Regions from separate parts of the Homo sapiens genome. Here region 1 is linked to region 2. Evidence: promoter capture Hi-C in human tissues and cell types (Jung and others, 2019). All regions are on one chromosome and are shown on one strand. The core of a region is centred on a gene start or on the middle of the fragment in contact, and the rest is flanking DNA. Distances in the headings are between cores, read along the strand shown.

The links. The method cuts DNA at HindIII sites, captures the fragments that hold promoters and counts their contacts. A contact is called where the count stands out against the background at its distance.
Region 1: a contact is called between a fragment that was not itself captured here and the fragment with the promoter of OTUD7A in region 2, in 5 of the 25 tissues and cell types used here (H1 embryonic stem cells, IMR-90 fibroblasts, dorsolateral prefrontal cortex and 2 more).

Annotation. Positions count from the first base shown.
Region 1 is chr15:31,598,234-31,602,599 of GRCh38, forward strand. All of the region lies in intron 3 of OTUD7A (OTU deubiquitinase 7A), which reads right to left. Among named protein-coding and RNA genes, the nearest start is that of OTUD7A, 270 kb to the right of the region's middle. The HindIII fragment of the contact is 5,253 bases long and covers 109-4,366 here.
Region 2 is chr15:31,868,917-31,873,280 of GRCh38, forward strand. It overlaps OTUD7A (OTU deubiquitinase 7A), which reads right to left and starts at 1,757. Exons shown (of 13, transcript NM_001382637.1): 1 at 1,591-1,757. RefSeq lists a silencer at 1,720-1,789. The HindIII fragment of the contact is 13,679 bases long and covers 1-4,364 here.

The DNA of each region.
Region 1 (4,366 bases), core at 1,485-3,984, 270 kb before region 2:
TCCAGTGTGCAGTTCCCAGTGAGATCGACGCAGAAGGCAGGTGATTTCTGCATTTCCAACTGAGGTACAGGTTCATCTCATTGGGACTGGTTGGACAGTGGGTGCAGCCCACAGAGGGCGAGCCGAAGCAGGGCAGGGCGTCGCCTCACCCAGGAAGTACAAGGGGTCGGGGAATTCTCTCCCCTACCCAAGGGAAGCCGTGAGGGACTGAGCCTGAGGAACTATGCACACTCCGGCCCAGATACTGCACTTTTCCCATGGTCTTTGCAACCTGCAGACCAGGAGATTCCTTCCAGTGCCTATGTCACCAGGGCCCTGGGTTTCAAGCACAAAACTGGGCAGCCGTTCAGGCAGACACCAAACTAGTTGCAGGAGGTTTTTTTTTCCATACCCCAGTGGTGCCTGGAACACCAGAGAGACAGAACAGTTCACTCTCCTGGAGATGGGGCTGAAGTCAGGAAGCCAAGTGGTCTGGCTCAGTGGGTCCCACCCCCATGGAGCCCAGCAAACTAAGATGCACTGGCTTGAAATTCTCGCTGCTAGCACAGCAGTCTGAGGTCGACCTGGGGCACTTGAGCTTGGTAGGGGGAGGGGCGTCTGCCATTGCTGAGGCTTGAGTAGGTGGTTTTACCCTCACAGTGTAAACAAAGCCGCAGGGAAGTTCGAACTGGGTGGAGCCCATCACAGCTCAGCAAGGCCGCCGTGGCCAGACTGCCTCTGGACTCCTCCTCTCTGGGCAGGGCATCTCTAAAAAAAAAGGCAGCAGCCCCAGTCAGGGACTTATAGATAAAACTCCCATCTCCCTGGGACAGAGCACCTGGGGGAAGGGGTGGCTGTGGGCGCAGCTTCAGCAGACTTAAATATCCCTGCCTGACGGCTCTGAAGAGAGCAGTGGACCTCCCAGCACAGCGTTTGAGTTCTGCTAAGGGTCAGACTGCCTCTTCAAGTGGGTCCCTGACCCCTGTGTATCCTGACTGGGAGACACCTCCCAGGAGGGGCCAACAGACACCTCATACAGGAGAGCTCTGGCTGGCATCTGGTGGATGCCCCTCTGGGAGGAAGCTTCCAAAGGAAAGAACAGGCAGCAATCTTTGCTATTCTGCAGCCTCTGCTGGTAATACCCAGGCAAACAGGGTCTGGAGTGGACCTCCAGCAAACTCCAGCAGGCCTGCAGCAGAGGGGCCTGACTGTCAGAAGGAAAACTAACAAACAGAAAGGAATAGCACATTCACTCAGAGATCCCATCCAAAGGTCACCAACATCAAAGACCAAAGGTAGATAAATCCATGAAGATGGGGAGAAACCAGCGCAAAAAGGCTGAAAATTCCAAAAACCAGAACGCCTCTTCTCCTCCAAAGGATCACAACTCCTCGCCAGCAAGGGAACAAAACTGGACAGAGAATGAGTTTGGCAAATTGACAGAGGTAGGCTTCAGAAAGTGGGTAATAACAAACCCCTCTGAGCTAAAGGAACATATTCTAACCCAATGCAAGGAAGCTAAGAACCTTGAAAAAAGGTTAGACGAATTGCTAACTAGAATAACTGGTTTAGAGAAGAACATAAATGACCTGATGGAGTTGAAAAACACAGCACAAGAACTTCGTGAAGCATACACAAATATCAATAGCCGAGTCGATCAAGCGGAAGAAAGGATATCAGAGATTGAAGATCAAATTAATGAAATAAAGCAAGAAGACAGGATTAGAGAAAAAAGAATGAAAAGGAATGAACAAAGCCTCCAAGAAATATGGGGTTATGTGAAAAGACCAAATCTACATTTGACTGATATACCTGAAAGTGATGGGGAGAATGGAACCAAGATGGAAAACACTCTTCAGGATATTATCTAGGAGAACTTCCCCAACCTAGCAAGGCAGGCCAACATTCAAATTCAGGAAATACAGAGAACACCACAAAGATACTCCTCGAGAAGAGCATCCCCAAGACACATAATCCCAAGATACATAATCGTCAGATTCACCAAGGTTGAAATGCAGGAAAAACTGTTAAGGGCAGCCAGAGAGAAAGGCCAGGTTACCCACAAAGGGAAGCCCATCAGACTAACAGTGGATCTTTCTGCAGAAACCCTACTCAACACAACCCAGAATTTCATATCCAGCCCAACTAAGCTTCATAAGTGAAGGAGAAATAAAATCCTTTACAGACAGGCAAATGCTGAGAGATTTTGTGACCACCAGGCCTGCCTTACAAGAGCTCCTGAAGGAAGCACTAAACATGGAAAGGAACAGCCGGTACCAGCCACTGCAAAAACATACCAAATTGTAAAGACCATCAACACTATGAAGAAACTGCAGCAACCAACGAGCAAAATAACCAGCTAGCATCATAATGACAGGATCAAATTCACACATAACAATATGAACTTTAAATGTAAATGGGCTAAATGCCCTAATTAAAAGACACAGGCTGGCAAATTGGATAAAGAGTCAAGACCCATCAGTGTGCTGTATTCAGAAGACCCATCTCACATGCAAAGACACACACAGACTCAAAATAAAGGGATGGAGGAATATTTATCAACAAATGGAAAGCAAAAAAAAGCAGGGGTTGCAATCCTAGTCTCTGATAAAACAGACTTTAAACCAACAAAGATCAAAAGAGACAAAGAAGGGCATTACATAGTGGTAAAGTGATCAAGGCAACAAGAAGAGCTAACTATCCTAAATATATATGCACCTAATACAGGAGCACTCAGATTCACAAAGCAAGTTCTTAGAGACCTACAAAGAGACTCAGACTCCCACACAATAACAGTGGGAGACCTTAACAACCCACTGCCAATATTAGACAGATCACTGAGACAGAAAATTAACAAGGACATTCAGGACTTGAACTCAGCTCCGGACCAAGCAGACCTAATAGACACATACAGAACTCTCCACCCCAAATCGACAGAATATACATTCTTCTCGGCACCACATCGCACTTTTTCTAAAACTGACCACATAATTGGAAGTAAAACACTCCTCAGCAAATGCAAAACAATGGAAATCATAACAAACAGTCTCTCATACTACAGTGCAATCAAATTAGAACTCAGGATTAAGAAACTCACCCAAAACTGCACAACAACATGGAAACTGAACAACCTGCTCCTGAATGACTCCTGGGTAAATAATGAAATGAAGGCAGACATAAAGATGTCCTTTGAAACCAATGAGAACAGACGCAACGTACCAGAATCTCTGGGACACATTTAATGCAGTGTGTAGAGGGAAATTTATAGCACTAAATGCCCACAAGAGAAAGCAGGAAAGATCTAAAATCGACACCCTAACATCACAATTAAAAGAACTAGAGAAGTAAGAGCAAACAAATTCAAAAGCTAGCAGAAGACAAGAAAAAACTAAGATCAGAGCAGAACTGAAGGAGATAGAGACACAAAAAACCCTTTAAAAAAAATCAATGAATCCAGGAGCTAGTTTTTTGAAAAGATCAACAAAATAGACCGCTAGCCAGACTAATAAAGAAGAAAAGAGAGAAGACTCAAATACACACAATGGAAAATGATAAAGGGGATATCACCACTGATCCCACAGAAATACAAACTACCAGAGAATACTATAAACACTCCTATGCAAATAAAGTAGAAAATCTAGAAGAAACGGATAAATTCCTGGACATATACACCCTCCCAAGTCTAAGCCAGGAAGAAGTCAAATCCCTGAATAGACCAATAACAAGTTCTGAAATTGAGGCAGTAATTAATAGCCTACCAACCAAAAAAAGTCCAGGAACAGATAGATTCACAGCCGAATTCTACCAAAGGTACAAAGAGGAGCTGGTACCATTCCTTCTGAAACTATTCCAATCAATAGAAAAAGAGAGAGTCCTCTCTAACTCATTTTATGAGGCCAGCATCATCCTGATACCAAAACCTGGCAAAGACACAACAAAAAAAGAAAATTTCAGGGCAATATCTCTGATGAACATCAATGAAAAAATCCTCAATAAAATACTGGCAAACCGAATCCAGCAGCACATCAAAAAGCTTATCCACCATGATCAAGTGGGCTTCATCCCTGGGATGCAAGGCTGGTTCAACATACGCAAATCAAGAAATGTAATGCATCACATAAACAGAACCAATGACAAAAACCACATGATTATCTCAATGGATGCAGAAAAGGCCTTCGACAAAATTCAACACCCCTTCATGGTAAAAACTCTCAATAAACTAGGTATCAATGGAACATATCTCAAAATATTAAGAGCTATTTATGACAAACCCAGAGCTAACATCATACTGAATGGGCAAAAACTGGAAGCATTCCCTTTGAAAACCAGCACAAGACAAGGATGCCCTCTTCACCATTCCTATTCAACATAGTATTGGAAGTTCTAG
Region 2 (4,364 bases), core at 507-3,006:
TGGCATATGGTATTAAATTCCTTACAGATCCAATAAAATCACACTAACAATTTAAGGCATGCTTATTTTAACCAATTAGGAGGTGTCATTAATTATTAAATACAAAAATGTCAATACTTTTGTCCCTTATTGGATATCCTTTCGATATGATAGGCTTGAGTAGATACTCAGATTGCCTTGGGAACTTGCTTAGTTTTGTTCCCATAAGAATTGGTACTAATGGCACACTCACAATAAAATAATGGAGTGTTGATCCCATTTAGTGGGGAATGTTTATCCAGAACTGAGTGTGCCGTGCAGATCTACCTCTGTTCTCGTGAACCCTCTTTGGGTCTTGAAGAGGCCTTTGAAGCTGGTGGGACACACGGCTGCTGGGAGGACCCTAGTGAACCTGCCTCCCCGCCTTCGCCCAGGGCAGGCTTCTCCGGGCACACCCTGGAGGAGGAGGAGGAGGATGGTGAAGGACACCTGCAGATTTTCCTGAAGCAATTAAGACCTGTAAAGATTTAGGCCCCGCTGTCAACCTTTTCCTGGACACATTATCTGCCTCATCATATTTTTAAAAATTGTTCCTCTTACAGCCCACTTCCATTTACAAAGGTATCACCTGGCGGTAACCATGTGCATGTCATACATGACTTTCCCCTGGATCCTTGTGCTGTGGATGAAGCGTTTCCCTGATCGGGGTCTCACAAGTTTCCCTTCAGCTACTCTTAAATCTATACATTCTCAAGCCAATAGACAGAAATAAAAGTCATTTGCACTTGTGTGAGGTAGCTGAGTTTACAGAGCAGAGGCAAATCCATTTTATTACAGAGATTCTCAAAGGGCTGCAATAGCTTCACCGGGAGGGAGGAGGGTACACTTGAGCGGTTGTGTCCAATGAAGGAAAGTTTTAGTTAATGATGACATCACTGACATCTCCCAAATTTAAAGGAGCACTTAAAGCACCGCAGATGCAATTTTTTCCCCTCCAGTGAGGAGATACTAGGGAAGGCCTCTGGGTTCACAGCCAAATTGCCTTAATGGTTTGCCTGCTGTCCAGCGAGACCCAGCAGAGCGAGCGGGACGGCGGTGCGCCGGGCCGCGGGGACCCACGCAGTCACAGCTCCGGTGCCCGGCGAGCGGCCTCGCGCGCGGCTCGGGGCCGGGCCCTGCCCGGCCGTCTGCAAGAGCCGCGGGACCCCCGACGCGCGCGCACGGACCGAGGGGTCGGTCGCCCCACGCCTGGCATCACGTTCCAGTGCGGACAGCCAAAGGGCTGAGCGGAGGCAGCAGCCCCGACCCAGCGGTAGCGCCGCGCCCTGCCCGAGAGAGGCGCGCCACGCCGGGCCGGAGCCGGTGGCCCGGGAGCCCGCGGGGTCCGGAGCGGAGCCCGCAATGCAGACGCGCCGGCGAGCCCAGCCGGGGCCCGCGCCCCCCGCGTCCCCGCGCCCCGGCCCCGCGGTCGCCCGGCCTCAACGCCCACCTGCCTCGCCACGGAGCTCGGGAAGGAGACGGCGCCGGCCCCGCGCCCGGAGAGCGCACCTGCCTGGTCCGCGGGCCCGGCCCCGCCGCCCGCCGGCAGCACCGCGGCCAGCGCCGTCTTACCTGCCGCGCCGCGCCGCTCCGCTCCGCCAGCCCGCAGCGCCGCAGTCGCCGCTACCCGACTTCCATTTTCTCTCGCTTTAAAGGAAAACCAGATCAGCTGTTTTGCTCCCGCTCGGGCTCCGCGGCCCCCTCCCCAGCTGCCGCTCGCGGTCCCGGTGGCCTCTCCTCCCCCGCCTCCTCCCGCGCTCCGCTCCGCCCCTCGCGCCCCTCCGCTCCGCCCGCGGCCGCGCACAACGCCCGCCTCCCGGCTCCGCCTGCTGCCTCCGGGCGCGCGCCCTCCTCTGACGTCACCGGTCGCGTTCGCGCCCCGCCCCCGCCCCGCGCGGACGTGCGCGCGCCGCGCCTGTGCCCCGCCCCCGCCCCTCCGGGGCCGGGCACGGAGAGCGCGTGCTCGCGGCCGCGAGCCGAGGAGGGGACGTACAGCGCCCGCGCGCCCGCGAGCCCGCTCCGGCTCTCCCATGCTTGCCCCTCGGGGTGCTCCTTCTGCGCTCTCCGCCTGGACTGCAGGAAAAGGCTGCTTAAACAGCCTGCCTTTTCCTGCTGCCTGACTCGCGCCATCTGCGGCCACCTGTCTCGTTTCTTCCCCCTGGCTGGCGCACCCTTCCTTCCTAAACATCCCAAACTTTCTCCCACCCAGGCTGTCCAGGCTGCAGTTTCTACGCCCTGCGCTGGGGCCTGTGCATCACGCCTAATCCAAAGCTGGTCCTTTTACCTCCCAAAAAGGTTCTCTGACCTTTTCCCATTTTTTGCCTTCCTCTAAAGACTTTTTCACGCCACCCCTTCAGATGGTTCCCCTCCCTGATGGCAAGACCTGCTCGCTGCTCTGGGCCCTTCTCACGTCACCCTGTAGATGTAGTCACGCTTCCTTATCCCAAACAGGACGTTATATTGCAGATGACCCATACCATCCTGGTGTACTTCTAAACAATCATTATTTTACTTTTAGTTTAGGACTTTTTGCTTGACTTTAAACATTGTATATGTTTAATAGTGTTTAATAATTTATTTGACTTTTAAAATTGATATTCAGTAAAATTGGTTATTTGATATATAATCCTGTGATCTTGAACCCTTGTTTGGATTCATGTAACCACTAGCGCAATAAAGAGCTCCCTAGTTCTGCCCTTTTATAACAGCGCCCCCGCCAACCCTAACTTTTGGTAACCACTGATAGGTTCTCCATTGCTACGGTTTTGTCTTTGTGAGTGTGTCGTATACATGGAATTACGCAATATGTAACATTTTGAAACTGACTTTATTCCCTCATCATTATACCTTGGAGATTCATCCATGTTATTGTGTATAGTAATAGTCCTTTTTATTGTTGAGGGGAGTCTCATTATTTGTACCACATTTTGTTTAGTCACCCACTGGAGAATATTTGCGTGGTTTCCAGTTTTTGGCGACTGTGAATAAACATTCTATAAACATTTGCATGCAGCGTTTTGTACGGACAAATTTTTTAAATTAGTTGACTAAATATCTAGGAGTGCAATTGCTAGATCTTATGGTAAATTTGTTTAACTTTATAAGAACCAAACAGTTTTCTAGAGTGGCTATAGCATTTTTATAACTGTCAGCAAATATGAATCCCTTTCCTTCATCCTCACCAGCACTTGATATTGGCTATCTTTATCTATCTATCTGTCCATCCATCCATCCATCCGTCTATCATCTATAATTTTAGACATTCTAGTAGGCATATAGTGCTATATCGTTGTTAATTTTCAATTTTCTACTGAAAAATTATGTGGAGCAACTTTTCATATGCACCTGTATATCTTCTTTGGTGAGATGTTTGTTCACATCTTTTGCCCATTAAAAAAAAAAGGTTGTTTTCTTATGGTTGAGTTTTAAGAGTTCTTTGTGTATTTTGGATAGAAGTACTTTATCTGATACGTGTTTTGCAGGTATTTTCTTCCAGTGGAAGCTTGTCTTTTCATTCTCTTAACAGTCCTGTCCTGAATTTAGGGGAAGTATCCAGTTTCTTACCACTAAATATGATGTTAGCAGTAGGATTTTTTTAGTTCTTCTTTATCAAGATTAGGAAGTTCTCTCTATTCCTAGTTTGCAGAGTTTTTATCATGAATGAATGTTGGATTTTGCCAAATTCGTTTTCTGCATCTATTGATACGGTCATGTGATTTTATTTTCTTTAGCTTGTTGATATGATGGGTTACATTGATTTTCAATTGATTTTCAAGGAACCGGTCTTGCATACTTGGGTCAAATTCTACTTGGGCATGGTATATAATTGTTTTTATACACCATTGTATTCAATATGCTAATATTTTGTTGAAGACTTTTGCATCTATGTTCATGAGAAATATTTGGCTATAGTTTTCTTTTTTGTAATGTCTTTAATTTATTTTGGTATGCCGGTAATGCTGGCCTCATAAAATGAGTTAAGAAGTAATATTTACTTGTATTTTCTGTAAGAAATTGTAAAGAACCTATATCAATTCTTCCATAAATGTTTGGTAAAATTCCCTGGTGAAACCATCTGAATCTGGTGATTTTTTTGAGACTTCATTAATTATTGATTCTTTGTGGATACAGAGCTATTAGGTGATCTGTTTGCTTTTCTGTAAAATGTAGTTGTATCATTCAAGGAATCGGTCCTTTTTATCTAATATTCAAACTTGTGGGTGTAAAGTTGTTCATCATAAACCTTTATTATTCTTTTAACATCTATGAAATTAGTAGAGATGACGCCTCTTTCATTTTTTGATATTGGCAAACTATGCCCAATGTCTTTTTTTCTTGGTTAACCT